5 separate regions of the Homo sapiens genome follow, and all the other regions are linked to region 1. The links are contacts of gene promoters, found by promoter capture Hi-C in human tissues and cell types (Jung and others, 2019). All regions are on one chromosome and are shown on one strand. The core of a region is centred on a gene start or on the middle of the fragment in contact, and the rest is flanking DNA. Distances in the headings are between cores, read along the strand shown. Region 1 holds the start of C4orf46 (chromosome 4 open reading frame 46). Region 2 overlaps TMEM144 (transmembrane protein 144). Region 3 has its middle 50 kb from the start of TMEM144. Region 4 overlaps SPMIP2 (sperm microtubule inner protein 2). Region 5 holds the start of LOC101928007 (a long non-coding RNA gene).

Region 1 (2,700 bases), core at 155-2,654:
AATGAAAATGTATAGATCAAAGAACAGAAACTCTGAGCTCTGACAAATAACATTAAAAAATCACACACAAATGCAGAAAACACTCAGCTCCTGGTGGAAAATTCACTTTTCAGCCAAACGTTTTCTTCACCAATGATATAAAATAAAACAGTGTTCCTCAATAACACATTAGCACTTCATTCTACATATTTACTTGCAATCAGTTTGTTCTGCAAAAATAAAAGCTGGTTAAGCACTCTAGTCATCCTTAAAAAAAAATACTTGCGGAGCAATGAGATAATCTAGTTCATCCCCTAGTTTCCAATCTGCAGGAAAGGTCAGGCCACAGAACTCTCCCAGGTTACACTCTACATACCTCATTCCACTTGACCCACTCAAGAGAACATAAAACTCCCCTTCCCTGTCTTCTCCCCTCCAGTGGTGTGTGAGTTACGGTTGGGAGGTGGGGTGCTAGTTTCTGGGGATTCGAGATTTAACAGAAACTATCCTAAGTATGCATTCTAGCAATCATACAAAGGGAGGAGTCCTGAACTAAACCGTCAAAGAAGCCAATCCACGTGACCTAAACCCTTCAAGCTGGGTCCAGCGCTAAGCAGGCCTGGGGCAGACAATGGCATTATCAGCTGTCCCTGGGCAGGTGGCCAACTAGAACAGCAGGCTCTAAGTCCCATGGAAAGAAATCACAGCCTGATCTCAAGTACCCACAGAAAGCCAGCAAACTCATGCAGTGAAAACTATTCTCCGAAACCCATGCAATGAAAACTATTCTCCGATGGGAAAGGAGGAGGCAGAGAGCCAGCAACAGGCAGCGCAGAGCTGCGTGGCTTCGGGTTACTGCGGATGATTGAAACCAGAAGGCGAGACAAAAAGAAACCAGTGAGGGGTGGGGCGGGTGGAAGGAAAACCCCTTAAGACTCCTCACCACTAAATCTAAAGGGGGAACCCTCAGAGAGGGGTGGCACTTTAGCTGCTGGCATCCCCCCCGCTTCCCGCCCGCACGCTCTGGGGCGCAGAAGGGCCGGTCGTCCCGGGTCATGGGGGTTGGGGGACCGATTCCCTAGCCTCGCGAGCCCCGCCGCCGCCGGTCTTCCCAGAGGCGCCGAGGGGGGACGCGGTCCCGACACCACACTCACGTCTCCGATCTGCAGCTCCACTTCCTCCAGCTGGTCCACCGTTGGGCCGCTGCTCCTGCTCGGAACTGGCCAGCCCAAACTCACTGGGCCGCCCGGGGAAGATGCTGCAGAGGCGTCTGAAGAGGAGGGAGAAGAGGGAGGCGGCGGGGGCGGCGAAGAAACCTGCAACTCCTCAGGGTCGGCCATGGGGAAGGGTTGGGACCGCGGAATCCGACCCGAGAAGCCGAACCGACACCAACTGTCTTTTAACCACTCGCGCCCAAAGCCGAAAGGCCCCGCCTCCTAACGCCAGAAATCCCGCCCAGTCTCCTCGTGGGTCTCAGCCCCGGACCACAAAGACGTTTCATTTTTCGGGACAGCCAATCATATGAGTCAATTCACCTTAGGCAACTCACGGCTCCTGCGCGAGCCTCCAATCGATCTCGAAGGGCACTCGTAGAGAAAACTACACCTCCCAGGAAGCCGTGTGCGTCGCCCCGCCTTCTACTGCCTTTCACTGCGCGTGCGTCGTGCTGTGGGATTCGCGGACCCCTCTGGCCGCGCTGTGGCTGTTTCACCGCTCCCCGGCTGGGACTTGGAGTCCCTTATCTTTCCCTGGTTTGGTACATGACCCGGAAGCCTCGGCTGGCCGTTGCGTCATCCATGGCGCCGGCGCAGAGCGAGAAGGAGGTGGGAACGCCGTGAAGCAAGAGCGGTCGGCAGAGCGGGGAGGCGAACTGCAGCAGAGTTCTTGCTTTCCGGCAGGTGATGGCGCCCCCCGCGGCCTAGAGGTCCAGCGCCCGCCGCGAGCAGCGGACAGTCCTCCTGTTGTGTCCGACCGAGAGTCCTGGTGACTTTGAACATGCTGGTGCCGCTAGCCAAGCTGTCCTGCCTGGGTGAGAGGAAACGGGCGGTGGGGATAAGTGGAGGAGTTAGGGCAAAAGGGACAAGGCCGGTCCTGGGGGCTGTAGGCACCTCTCGCCCCTTCTCTCATCAGCTTTCTCAGGCTATCTAGGGCAAAGGTCACGCGCTGTCAGCCTGTTGGGGGACCCTGGCTTCCTCCCTCTGGGGTTGCCCCAGTTGGTAGAATTAATATCTAGGCTAAAGGTCAAGGGCGGGGAAAACTTGTCAACACGCCCTCGGCATCACCACCACCTGTCAACACACACACACCTCGGTGGACTCCTGAACTGAGGCTTCCCAAATCCTGGTTCTAATCTTCAAACCTCTGTTGGAAATGGAAAAAAAAAAATCGTATTTGCCCAGTTTTTCTCCCTGGTCCTGACCTGACTTTCGTCTTCGGAGCCATTCTAGTTCAGTCTAAAGAAATTGAAGTCTGATCTGTCACATCATGGTTAACATTCATATGTTGACCAAGTCACCCAAGTGTATCTGGAGCCAGTTTTTCTGCGTTGTCTAAAATTAAGGGCTGGGCGTGGTGGCTCAAGCCTGTAATCCCAGCACTCTGGGAGGCTGAGGCGGATGGATCACCTGAGGTCAGGAGTTCAAGACCAGCCTGGCCAACATTGTGAAACCCCATCTCTACTAAAAATACAAAAATTAGCTGGGCGTTGTGGCCCACTCCTGT
Region 2 (2,700 bases), core at 43-2,542, 430 kb before region 1:
TTTCATTTTATAAATGTAAACCCAATTTTTCTGAAGCACTCTTAGGGCATCGCTAAAGACTGTCATGGAGTTTGATTTTTTAGGAATACAATTAATGGATTCAGATAGATAAACTGACCCTCTTGAATCTTCATGTGCTTGATTGCTAAGGAACATTTCTCACCTCATTTTAGCAGGGCTGTTACTCCTTAATCTTTAATATCCTTGCAGTTTTTGGTTTGATTGGTTTATCTAATGTAATTTTAGCGACATTGTAATTTGCTATTGATAACTATTATTCTCTCCTTATATAAAAGTTTATAAATATGGGACCTCTTAAAGGGAACATTGAAAAACAAACAAACAATATCCTTCACAAAACTTTTATAGTAGACAGAGAGTTGGTTTTTCTACCATTGTTTCTTGTTTTGAGTTAGAATAAAGACTGAGGACAAAATGAAAGCCTAATTCAAAGGAAATAAACCACTGAAGTAGGTGAGTGTGGGCAGAGGATCAGTGAAAGTGGTCACTGTGGCTTTTGGCAACCTGCCCATCACAGAGATTATTCTTGAAAAACTGTAATGGAAGCAAAGCCTTCTCACTCACCAGGCATAACTTTCTTACCTTGTGCGCTTGGTGCTTGTTATCTGGGAAGGACAGGTATTTGGAATTGGTGAGGGAGTAGGTCCCTATTGCTACCAGGCCCTTGCTTGGTTTTATTTTAGTCACTTTATCCAAGGACAACCTTATCTACACACAGAAGAGTTAGTCCCTACCCTCAACAATCTTACATTCTTCATTATTTTATTTTTTTGGTAGGGCTAGATTTTTAAAACTTTTTTAAACTTAAAATGTCAAACGAACCTATCACCTAGTTTCAACAATTATGAATATGGTCAATCAATTTTATCAGAATACATTTTAAATATCCCAGCAGTGCTGTTCTTCTCAGGTATACATATTCCCATAGTTATATATCCAGTGGTAACTAGACTGAGTTCCTTGAAAGTAGTATCCACTTTGTTTATTAGCAAATAACATTCCATTAAAAAGCTAAAAAAAAAGAAAGAAAGAAAGAAAAAAGTCACCTAGCAGGGGCTGTTACCTCTGCTCCATGTCTTCCTTGATAATTCTAAACTGAATCAGCTTAATCTTAAGATAGGAGCGAGTTCACTTTGTTTTCAAAGGCTGATTTACACCTAACTTACATTAGTTTACAAAAGGAAAATATACAATCCAAATTACCAAAACTGTTGTATCTCCTATGAAGATGTCCTTCCTATTTGGCTCTCCTTGGCCTGAATCAAAGAGTCAGTACATACTTTGACCTATGCTTGCATTACTTTTACCAAAGCACCCTTCCTGTAACCACACTACTCACGATAACTCTTAGGCCATGCTTAAACTCATATTTAGAAAACAATCAGACAAGAATCTTCAAAGGTCAATGATACCTTGTGGTATTGTCCTGTACCATGTTCTCTGAAGGGAAATGGATTTTCAGATTAAAAATTCTTGAGTGATTAGCATAACATTAATATGGTATCCTCTGTTCTATTGTTTCCTCTCATTCTGTTGAAAGTCAGTGTGGGTTGCCTAAAAGACCCATATGCTTCTTGTTTGATTTGGATTTTGAGGCTTAGGAACTTACATCATTGATAAAAGGCAGTTCCTTTGACCTATTTCTCTGGCTCTTTTGATGTTGACTTTCCAGATACTGATAAACAGAGAGGAGTGTATTTTTTTTGTTTCACTTACATACCAAGAGTGGAATCAAACTTCATTGACTCAGTCCTTTTGTCAGTTGGAGTAGTGGTAGGGGAAAAACATTTTGGAATCTATTTGAAACTCTTCCAGAGTTTCTCGGAGTTTGAAGAGCAATCATAAAAATGCTGATACAATACACCTTCTCCACAAAGACCACACCTAGCCCGCATTCCAATTTTCTTCCTTCTCAGCTAAGAAGAATTACCACCAAACTTGAATAGCTTAAAGTTTATAAATTGCAGAACCATTCCTTTTTTTCACCTGTTTCTTCTCATTTCCTCTGTCCTGTATTATTTCATTCTTTTCTTTGTCTCCTGCCCAGAAACCCCTATTGTTTTTCCTTACACGTTTATTTTAATCTTCCCATAAACCTTTTTTTAGCATTCATTGGTGTTTAATGTTAGCCAGACTTGATTGCTCTGTAGTAATATCAGTTAAAAAAATTTTTAAAGCACGAGCTACTTCCACAAGTACATTATTTGTTAGGCCAAAAAGAATATGCCAAAATTTCTTCAGTTACAAGATTATCTCATGCCAAAGAAAGTTAGAAGCTTGTGCACACTTTTTCTTATTAATCCCATTTCTAGTATCCTAAGGAACTAGGCCAATGGAAAAAATAAGCTATGTGCTTATAAAAATAATTTATGTCAGATATATTAAAGTATTATGTGGCACAAAATATTATAGCATCATCAAAATAATCAAAATGAAGACCATGAAGAAAAGAAAATGAAAAAAAGTCTTCATTTTTTTTACTTAATATCACCTAAAGTTTAGCTTAGTGTGGAGTTAGGGTTGATATTATGGGTAGTTTTCCCTGAAAATATGTTTATACTGTCTCTAACTTACTATATTTATATAGAATCTAGTCATAGGTAAATATCCAATTTAATTAAAATTTATATTTTTATTTAAGGGTCCAGGATTTATAGCTGCAATGTGGGGTATCTTCAT
Region 3 (2,700 bases), core at 77-2,576, 410 kb before region 1:
TGAATGAATGCAAGTAAGCTAAATCCTAAAGGCCTCATTTGGTGCTAAAATTATCTTGTGTCTCCTATTTAGGTTTCACACTGAAAGAAGCAGTTTGAGAAACTGCTTAATTAAAAGACATTCAAATTCAAGACAATTTACACTTTCACTCTGTAATCATTTTCATAATAGCTCACATCCAATTAATACAGTGGATAAAACTTAAAAAGTTTAATGGGAAACCCTTTTAAATACTCTTTAGTTGTCAGAAAGAACAAAGGTAAAACTTGTAATTCCTGTCACATCTTCCTCGGTTCAAAGAGTATTTTACAGTTAGAATAAAAAAAGGAGCCAAATAAAATTACTTAGGTTTTTCTTTTTTTCTTGTTTTTTTTCTTTGAGGCTCAAGGAGTACATTCACAAAAATAAATTATATTGGCTCCCATATGAAATTATCAGGGATGACATTAAAACTAAGCAGCCAAGGAAAACATGTTGGTGCAGGCTTTAGTTTTTCTCTAAATAGAAAAATTAATATTCTAAGTAATTTTGAAATTTAAAATATTAAATTTATTAAAGCTGTAATGAATTATACATTGCTCCCTTAAGGAAAAAAAAAAATATCAGTACCTGTAAGATGTATCTGACATTCACAAACAGTAACCACCCAAAAACACCAGGTTTGGTTGCTGGATTAAGATTCTAAAATCTGATATTCTGATTTTAGAATCTTAATCTTAATAATGTATGTCTCTGTGTTCCTAAAATTTTTATTTTAAAGTGCATGACACAATACATCATGAAATAATTCATAGACTACTTTCTTAAAATTTAAGTAGTTTAAGAAATCCAGGAAAATATTCTTTCCTATTATTTTTGCATAAATTATAGCATAAATGAATATCCACATCCTACGTATATAATTAGTACCATGAAATACAACTTGCTATGTATAGTCCCTGCCACATGTTAGGAAAGTTTATGCGAATTGGGACCTCTCCACAGAAGAGTCATTCAACTTTAATAACTAGGGGAAATGTTGGAGTTAGGTAGTTGGTTAAAATGGAATCTTCACACAAAATGAGGTATCTGGTTGTCTTACCTTTAGTTATTACTGTATATTAATCTTCATTTAATTCATCTGTAAATACATTTTCAAATTTGACCACCAGAGGGAAGTATAGGGTTAATTATGATAGTCTGTGGTGGTCTATGTTATAAAATGTAAACTTTTTTTAAGTTTGGGCTCTGTCTCTCCCTCTCCTTCCCTCCTTCCCTTCTTCTCTCTCTCCTGTATCTCTGCTCTCAAATGACCATATTTTGCCATTTATAGATTCTTAAAAGCTGAACTATAAAAAAAGAAACCTATCTTCTATTTCCCATGCTATCAGTCTAATTGTCAATGTGATGTCTGCTTTTCAGTCATCGAGTTTTCATCACTCTTTTGCTTTATTATTATATTTGGCTTTTATAATTTCCTAGAAGTTGAAGACATCACAAAACAATTCAATTTTTAGACTTATTTAAACAGAAGAGTCTGTTCTTGCCCTAGAATATTCAGGACGTAGAAGAAGGCTCACAGCCAGTGCTACCAACATTAATGAGTGCTGCTGAATAAATATTAAGCTAGAAGGCACATTTTTCTCTGACCTAAAAACAAAGACATCATCACTAAATGATTAGGCTGAATGGCCTCAGGTTTCTCTAAGATGCTCTAGTAATTCTTTGGCTTCGTTAGACTTTTTAGGTCACAGAGACCTGGAACTATTTGCCCTGTTATTTTTGAAGACTTTTTGCAAGCACGAGGCAGAAATGTTTTCTCAATAGCCTACTATGTCAATCATTTGTTGTAATTGGATGTTCACTGAATATGGATTCTTACAGCATTTGCCATCACTTGTAGACTGAATTGAGGAAGATGCGTTCCTATTTCCTGAGCACAGAATGATGTTTCACTACGGTAAAAGTTTGACATAAAGTGGGATAGCACATGAGCCTGTTGTTTATTTCAGCTCTGAAATGCCTAATGGAAAATCACTATGAGACAAATTCCACAAAAATAGGAAAATTGGACATGTCTAACATGCTCAAATCATAAGCTGAGATATTTTGCAGAATTTTTATTTCTCTCTATTTACACACTAAAGGTCATTTAGAATCCTGTCACCTCACTTACATCATCTTACTCATGATGCTTCTTATTGAGGATCTCAAGTCTGAAATTCAAATATTATGTATGTGCTGTATTGGTAATAAAATCATCAACTTTAATATGGGAATGTGACATACTAAATATGAGGTCAGGAAATATATAAAACTAAATCTCACAATATATTTTAATATATTTTGTGTATTTTATGAGGAGTAGAGAGATGGGAAAGCAACTTGGTATTGGACACTTTCATATGAGGGATTTTTTTTGCAAACACCAAAGACTCTACATGCTGTACTATTTTATGTAAATATGTACCTTTTCTATGGCTATTGCAAAAATTCTAAATACCTAATCATTGCTTATCTTCGATGCTTTGTAAGACTGATTTACCTCCTGAAAAGATGATTCAAGATCATAAATAAAAGGAAGAAAATGTCATTTTCCTTAACCTTTATGTGATTTTCCTGGGTTCTGCAGCCCCCGCTGTTTGACTTACTATTCATTCAGGCAAACTTTTCAGAAAAGGCTATGGGAAATCCAGCAGGGCCTAAATGGCCTATTCTTAT
Region 4 (2,700 bases), core at 49-2,548, 360 kb after region 1:
ACCAGCCTGGCCAACATGGTGAAACCCCATCTCTACTAAAAATACAAAAAATTAGTGGGCATGGTGGCTCACGTCTGTAATTCCAGCTACTTAGGAGGCTGAGGCACGAGAATCACTTGAACCCTGGAGGGAGAGACTGCAGTGAGCTGAGATCATACCACTGCACTCCAGCCTGAGCAACAGAGGGAGACTGTCTCAAAAAAAAAAATTGTTGGGCTTTAAATACGTATACATTGTTCATAGTATATACAATTCTCTAAAGCTTGTGGCATTAATAAGTTATATATCTGTTTGTATCTTTCACCTGCTAATTCTGCTCTCTCTATATATACCACATGAAAATAAGAGAACAAGAAAAATAATTTATGCAAAGTATTCATACAAATTTGTAACAGTAAAAATTAGGAAATTATAAAATACAGGAGGCTGTGAAGCTAAGTATTATATGTCAGTATAATGAAAGGCAGAAATCTATCAAAGGTGACAACAATTTGAACTATGTAAATACATAAAACTAAGTATATACACTGGTGTAAGTTAGAAGAAATTTTAAGTGTTAATTAAGACTCTTGCACAGTTCCAAATGACAGAAAACCCAACCCAAACTGGCTAAGGAAAAGAGGAGATTTATTGGCTGATGAAAATTAAAACTTTAAAAGGCACAAAAATCTCTTCAAAATAGATTATAGACCTAAATGAAAACGTAACATTGTAAAATGTCTAAAAGAAAACACAGGATAAAAATCTAAATGACCTTTCTTTTTTTTTTTTTTTGGTAAAAAAGTCAAAAACAGACAATACCAAAGGCTGACAAGGACACAAAGCAACAAGGACTCTCATTCATTGCTGATGGACATGCAAAATAGTATAGCTAGTTTAGAAGACAGTTTGGCTTAACACAGGATCCAGCAATTACTCTCCTAGGTATTTACCAAATTGATTTGAAAACATATCCATGCAAAAGGCTGCACATAAATGTACATAGAAGCATTTCTCACAATTGCCAAAAACTGGAAGCCACCAAGATGTCTTTCGATAGGGGAAGGGATGAACAAATTGTGACACATCCACACAGTGAAATATTATTCAGTGGTAAAAAGAAATAAGCTATCAAACCATGAAAAGATGTGGAGAAGCCTTAAAATGATATTGATGAGGAAATGAAGCCAATCTGAAAAGACTACATACTGTATAACTCCAGCTCTGTGACATTCAAGAAAAGGCAAAACTGTGGAGACAGTGAAAAGATCAGTGGTTGCCAGGAGCTAGGGGGAAAGGGGGAGGGGGGAATGAATAGGTGAAGCACAAGAGATTTTTTAAGTGGTGAAACCATAACGTATGGTACTATAATGGTGAATACATGGTCCTATTAATTTGTCAAGACCCCCATATATTTAATAGCATAAAAAGCAAACCTTAATGGATGCAAATTAAAAAAAATTATTTACGAGATTGTAGGATTTCAGGAAGGAATTCAGACTGTGACAAGAAAATCTAACTGTATTACAAGTGCATAAAACAACCTTACTGAAGAGGCTAGAAAGAAAATGTGCAGACTTAAGTAACTTTGGAAATGAATAGAGTTTATAAGAATAAAGGCAAAAGGAATTGCAGATAAGCAGTGTACTCTTGTTGACAAAGTCCTTCTCACAGGAGTAAAAAAGAGGTAAGAGTGAGGAAAGAGATGTTTTTCCCAAAGCCAAGTGAGTCACAAGAAGGGGAGTGGATGAGATGGATGATGAGCAACACAAATCATAAATGCCCACCATAAATATGCATTTGATTATTTTTCTGTAACATTGTAAAATATGCTCACACTTTGGAAAAAAAGAAAAAAAGGCCAGGTTCACGCCTGGAATCCCGACACAGGTGGGTGGATCACTTGAGGTCAGGAGTTCGAGACCAGCCTAGCCAACATGGTGAAACCCCATTTCTACTAAAAGTACAAAATAAATAAATAAATAAACAACCACATGTGGTGGCATGTGCCTATAGTCCTAGCTACTCGGGAGACTGAGGCAGGAGAAACACTTGAACCTGGGAGGTGGAGGGTGCAGAGAGCCCAGATCGTGCCATTGCACCCTAGTCTGGGCAACAGGGCGAGACTCTGTCTCAAAAAATAAATAATTTGGAAAAAAAGGAAATAAAATGAAGTTTAGTTTATGCCTTATAGACTTACCACAACTAGTCATCTTCTATTTTTTAGATATTATTATAATTTCACACACACTGCCCAAATCATTTAAAGTAAGCTGAATGAACAAAACTCAAACCAATCACTTTACTAGGTTTAATGCATATCCTGCTCAAATTTTTATCAAGCAAATATGTCAAGTTTATAATGTTATGAGAAGCTTAAATCAGTGTTAATAAAAATTCGATGAAAAGTATGTTTTTTATTACATCAAAGAAGTTTCTCTTGCACAAACCATAAAAGCTATGCTAATTCAAATATTCCTTTGTGAAAGTTACCTCAGATATAGTGACAACTGCTGTGTTAAAGACATGTTTATGGCAACAAGATGATGATGATCAGACTGAGTGGGCATAATGAGATAGCAGTATCATGTAAATTAAATGTAGGTGGGTTGGGCATGGTGGCTGATGCCTGTAATCCCAGCACTTTGGGAGGCCTATGCAGGCAGATCACCTGAGGTCAGGAGTTCAAGGCCAGCCTGGCCAACATGGTGAAACCCTCAT
Region 5 (2,700 bases), core at 46-2,545, 490 kb before region 1:
GGCCATCTTACCTAAAACCTAGACCCAGAATAAATAAGGAAAAAATGCATATAATCCATTGTTTACAAATTTCCTAAAAATGAAAGATTCTGAAATTTAAAACTTCCATAAATGACATCAAGGTATCTGCGGTTAATATTAGAAATCACAAGCATACAAAGAAAAAAAAAACACAAAGAGAGAGAGAATTTTTGGAATTATTTGAATCCAAACATAAATATAGATAGATAAATATAAACTGTTTAAAGGAAGACAAAGGGAACATGCAACAAAAGGTTTTAAAAATGATTGGGTACACATTAAAAAGAAATCTTAAAATAACATTTAGAAATGATAAAACTGTTCAAATTAAAATTCACTGGATAAAATGTTGGGCCCTGGAGTCAACAGTGTAGCTTACATTTAACTAAACCTCCTACCAAAAATAAGTTTAAAAATTGGAAAAATATATATATATAAACAATCTTCTGAAGGCATTGGAGAGCCAGTGCAAGTAATATTGAGCAGCTAAAATCCTTGAGAAAGGGAAGCACACAAGATGTATTCAACATTCACCTCGGAATTTTCCTGGGGGCATTTTCCAAGTTGTGGTGAAGGCGAAAAGAGCCCAAGAAGAAAGCAGGAGTTTCACACGTCAGAGGAGACAAAGTCTGGCGTTTCAGGACGCCAAAGGAGCTGTGATTTGAGGAGCAAACTATTGAAAAAGACAGGAAGCTAAGAGAGTGTCCCCAAATCTGCATCCTAATTTCCCTCAAATTGTGGGTAAATTTCTGACTTGTGCATGTACAAGGCAAGCCTTCAAGATATGTAGTGGGAAACAGCAAACAGAAAGCTTGAATGCTGAGCAGAGATTTCAGCAGCTGAATGGCACTGAGGAGTTAGAGATTAGAATTAAATCCAGAGGGAGCGTGCTAAACCTAGGTCCAGGACTTGGGCAAAGCTACTTTCTAAGATTAATGGTCACATCCTGTAAGTAGCAAATTAAAAAGGTCAAGTATAACAAAGCTTAAAACTAAGTCTCAACTGGATCAAAGTCATTCACTGAAGTGCTTTATAACTAAAAAATAAAAACAGCACTTTCGTGGGAACATCATATAGAGAATGTACAGTATGCTATCTATATTCTGAAAACCGACTGAAAATTATAAAACATGTCAAAAATAACAACAGCAAATGACCAACACAGAGGGAAAAGGGGGGAAATTTAGAAATAAATTAAAAAAAAAAAAAAAAAACCCAGGCTCCATCCTTCAGGAACTCGAGAAGACCTGAACGCAGCTGCTGTCACTGCAGTCTGAGCCTAAGCCTGACGCATCAACTCTGCGTCACTTCCTGTGCCTGCACGCACGCTCCGACTGCGTGCCCGATTTCCGGGCTCTGTGCTACTGGAGCGCCTGGCTCTTGCAGCTCACGAGCCTGGGAAGTCGCCTCTATCCAAAGGCCTTTTTTCTGTGCTGTCTGCGCAAGCTGCCTTCTCCCTGCCTGCCCACGGGAGCATGACCAAGGTGGTAGGCTGCCAGTGGCCATCTCCATAAAGGCAACTGAAAGTTTCATACTGGAAGCTCTTTGGCTGGCACTCCCACAGTTCTATGAAATAAACTTACTTAAAGCTCTATGAAGTATGAAAACTTTGCCCTGCTCTTTGACTTGCACAAATTTTGTTTGTATGGTACATTAGAAGAGAGAAAAGGACGGCTTGCGATGGCATTATTAACTAATGGAGCACTGCAATTTTTACCAGGAGATGAGCTATGCTTAGAAGACTCAGACTTTTTAGAAAATCATTTCTCCACTTAAAAAAAAAATTGAAGGAAGGCAAGAAATTTCACAACATAGTGATAAACAGTCACCATCTTTATAGTATCCATATAACTATTCAAAAATAAAACATTTTTCCTAAGACCTATATGGTAAGTCAGTAGATAAGAGGCTTTTGTAAAATGCTACTTATTGGTAAGCTGACTTATATGAAGTAGTCCTAATGAATAATGAGGGTTGACTAGTCTTGTTTGAAACCGTGCCTGTGAAAGTTATAGCAGTCTTATTTAAAGTGTATTATGGTGCTCTCTTGCTTAATTGAATCTTTAACATTGTAGTATGCCACAACTGTAAAGTATTAATGATATTATTACCAAAACAAGAAAAAATTATTTTATTATGTCAAGAGTTTAAATAAGATGTTCTGCTGCCATTGTTCTAACTGTCCAGTGTATTAACACTCCTTGATGTGCTTAGAAGGTGGATCCATGAATTCCTTAGACTTTCTGCCAGAATTAAAAAGTGTCTAATTAAATGGTGAACAGTAAGTAGACTGAGGCAAATTTCCAGTGATGTTGTCATTTTTTTTTTTTTTGCTATGCCTTTAGCTTGAGGATTACAACACAATTCTATTTAAAACCAAATGGCATTAGTTCTTATCTATTCCCCAGATTGAAAATCTATTTTAAGTCAATATTTTAAAGAAATATGAAGCCATAACAAAAGCTACCATTATTTTTGCTCTGAAGTGCTAGTTAATGAATGCAAAGAAGATAGATTTAGAACTATTCATCATTTAATGTTTAATGAAATTTATTTTCAGTATATTTTATATGGGTTTTTTTACCTCCTCTAAAGAGGAATAATGTTTATTGATTAAAAGTGAAAAATAATGGTTTAGACACCAATTCTTTTTCAAGATCTTTGACTATATTACGCATT

Evidence for each region. The method cuts DNA at HindIII sites, captures the fragments that hold promoters and counts their contacts. A contact is called where the count stands out against the background at its distance.
Region 2: a contact is called between a fragment that was not itself captured here and the fragment with the promoter of C4orf46 in region 1, in 1 of the 25 tissues and cell types used here (mesendoderm cells).
Region 3: a fragment that was not itself captured here is called in contact with the fragment with the promoter of C4orf46 in region 1 in 1 of the 25 tissues and cell types used here (stomach).
Region 4: a fragment that was not itself captured here is called in contact with the fragment with the promoter of C4orf46 in region 1 in 1 of the 25 tissues and cell types used here (mesendoderm cells).
Region 5: a fragment that was not itself captured here is called in contact with the fragment with the promoter of C4orf46 in region 1 in 1 of the 25 tissues and cell types used here (dorsolateral prefrontal cortex).

The regions. Positions count from the first base shown.
Region 1 is chr4:158,670,483-158,673,182 of GRCh38, forward strand. It overlaps C4orf46 (chromosome 4 open reading frame 46), which reads right to left and starts at 1,405. Exons shown (of 2, transcript NM_001008393.4): 1 at 1,134-1,405. The coding sequence starts at 1,319. ETFDH (electron transfer flavoprotein dehydrogenase) reads left to right here and starts at 1,814. Exons shown (of 13, transcript NM_004453.4): 1 at 1,814-2,008. The coding sequence starts at 1,975. RefSeq lists enhancers at 384-1,020, 1,021-1,657, 1,500-2,059, 1,661-2,162 and a silencer at 1,010-1,079. The HindIII fragment of the contact is 11,975 bases long and covers 1-2,700 here.
Region 2 is chr4:158,241,634-158,244,333 of GRCh38, forward strand. It overlaps TMEM144 (transmembrane protein 144), which reads left to right. Exons shown (of 13, transcript NM_018342.5): 12 at 2,663-2,700. Among named protein-coding and RNA genes, the nearest start is that of TMEM144, 32 kb to the left of the region's middle. The HindIII fragment of the contact is 5,294 bases long and covers 1-2,700 here.
Region 3 is chr4:158,259,012-158,261,711 of GRCh38, forward strand. No RefSeq gene overlaps it. Among named protein-coding and RNA genes, the nearest start is that of TMEM144, 50 kb to the left of the region's middle. The HindIII fragment of the contact is 6,186 bases long and covers 1-2,700 here.
Region 4 is chr4:159,032,023-159,034,722 of GRCh38, forward strand. All of the region lies in intron 1 of SPMIP2 (sperm microtubule inner protein 2), which reads right to left. Among named protein-coding and RNA genes, the nearest start is that of SPMIP2, 1.9 kb to the right of the region's middle. The HindIII fragment of the contact is 4,562 bases long and covers 1-2,700 here.
Region 5 is chr4:158,181,511-158,184,210 of GRCh38, forward strand. All of the region lies in intron 2 of GASK1B-AS1 (GASK1B antisense RNA 1), which reads left to right. It overlaps LOC101928007 (a long non-coding RNA gene), which reads right to left and starts at 715. Exons shown (of 4, transcript XR_007058350.1): 1 at 556-715. It also overlaps the pseudogene NUDT19P5. The HindIII fragment of the contact is 4,910 bases long and covers 1-2,700 here.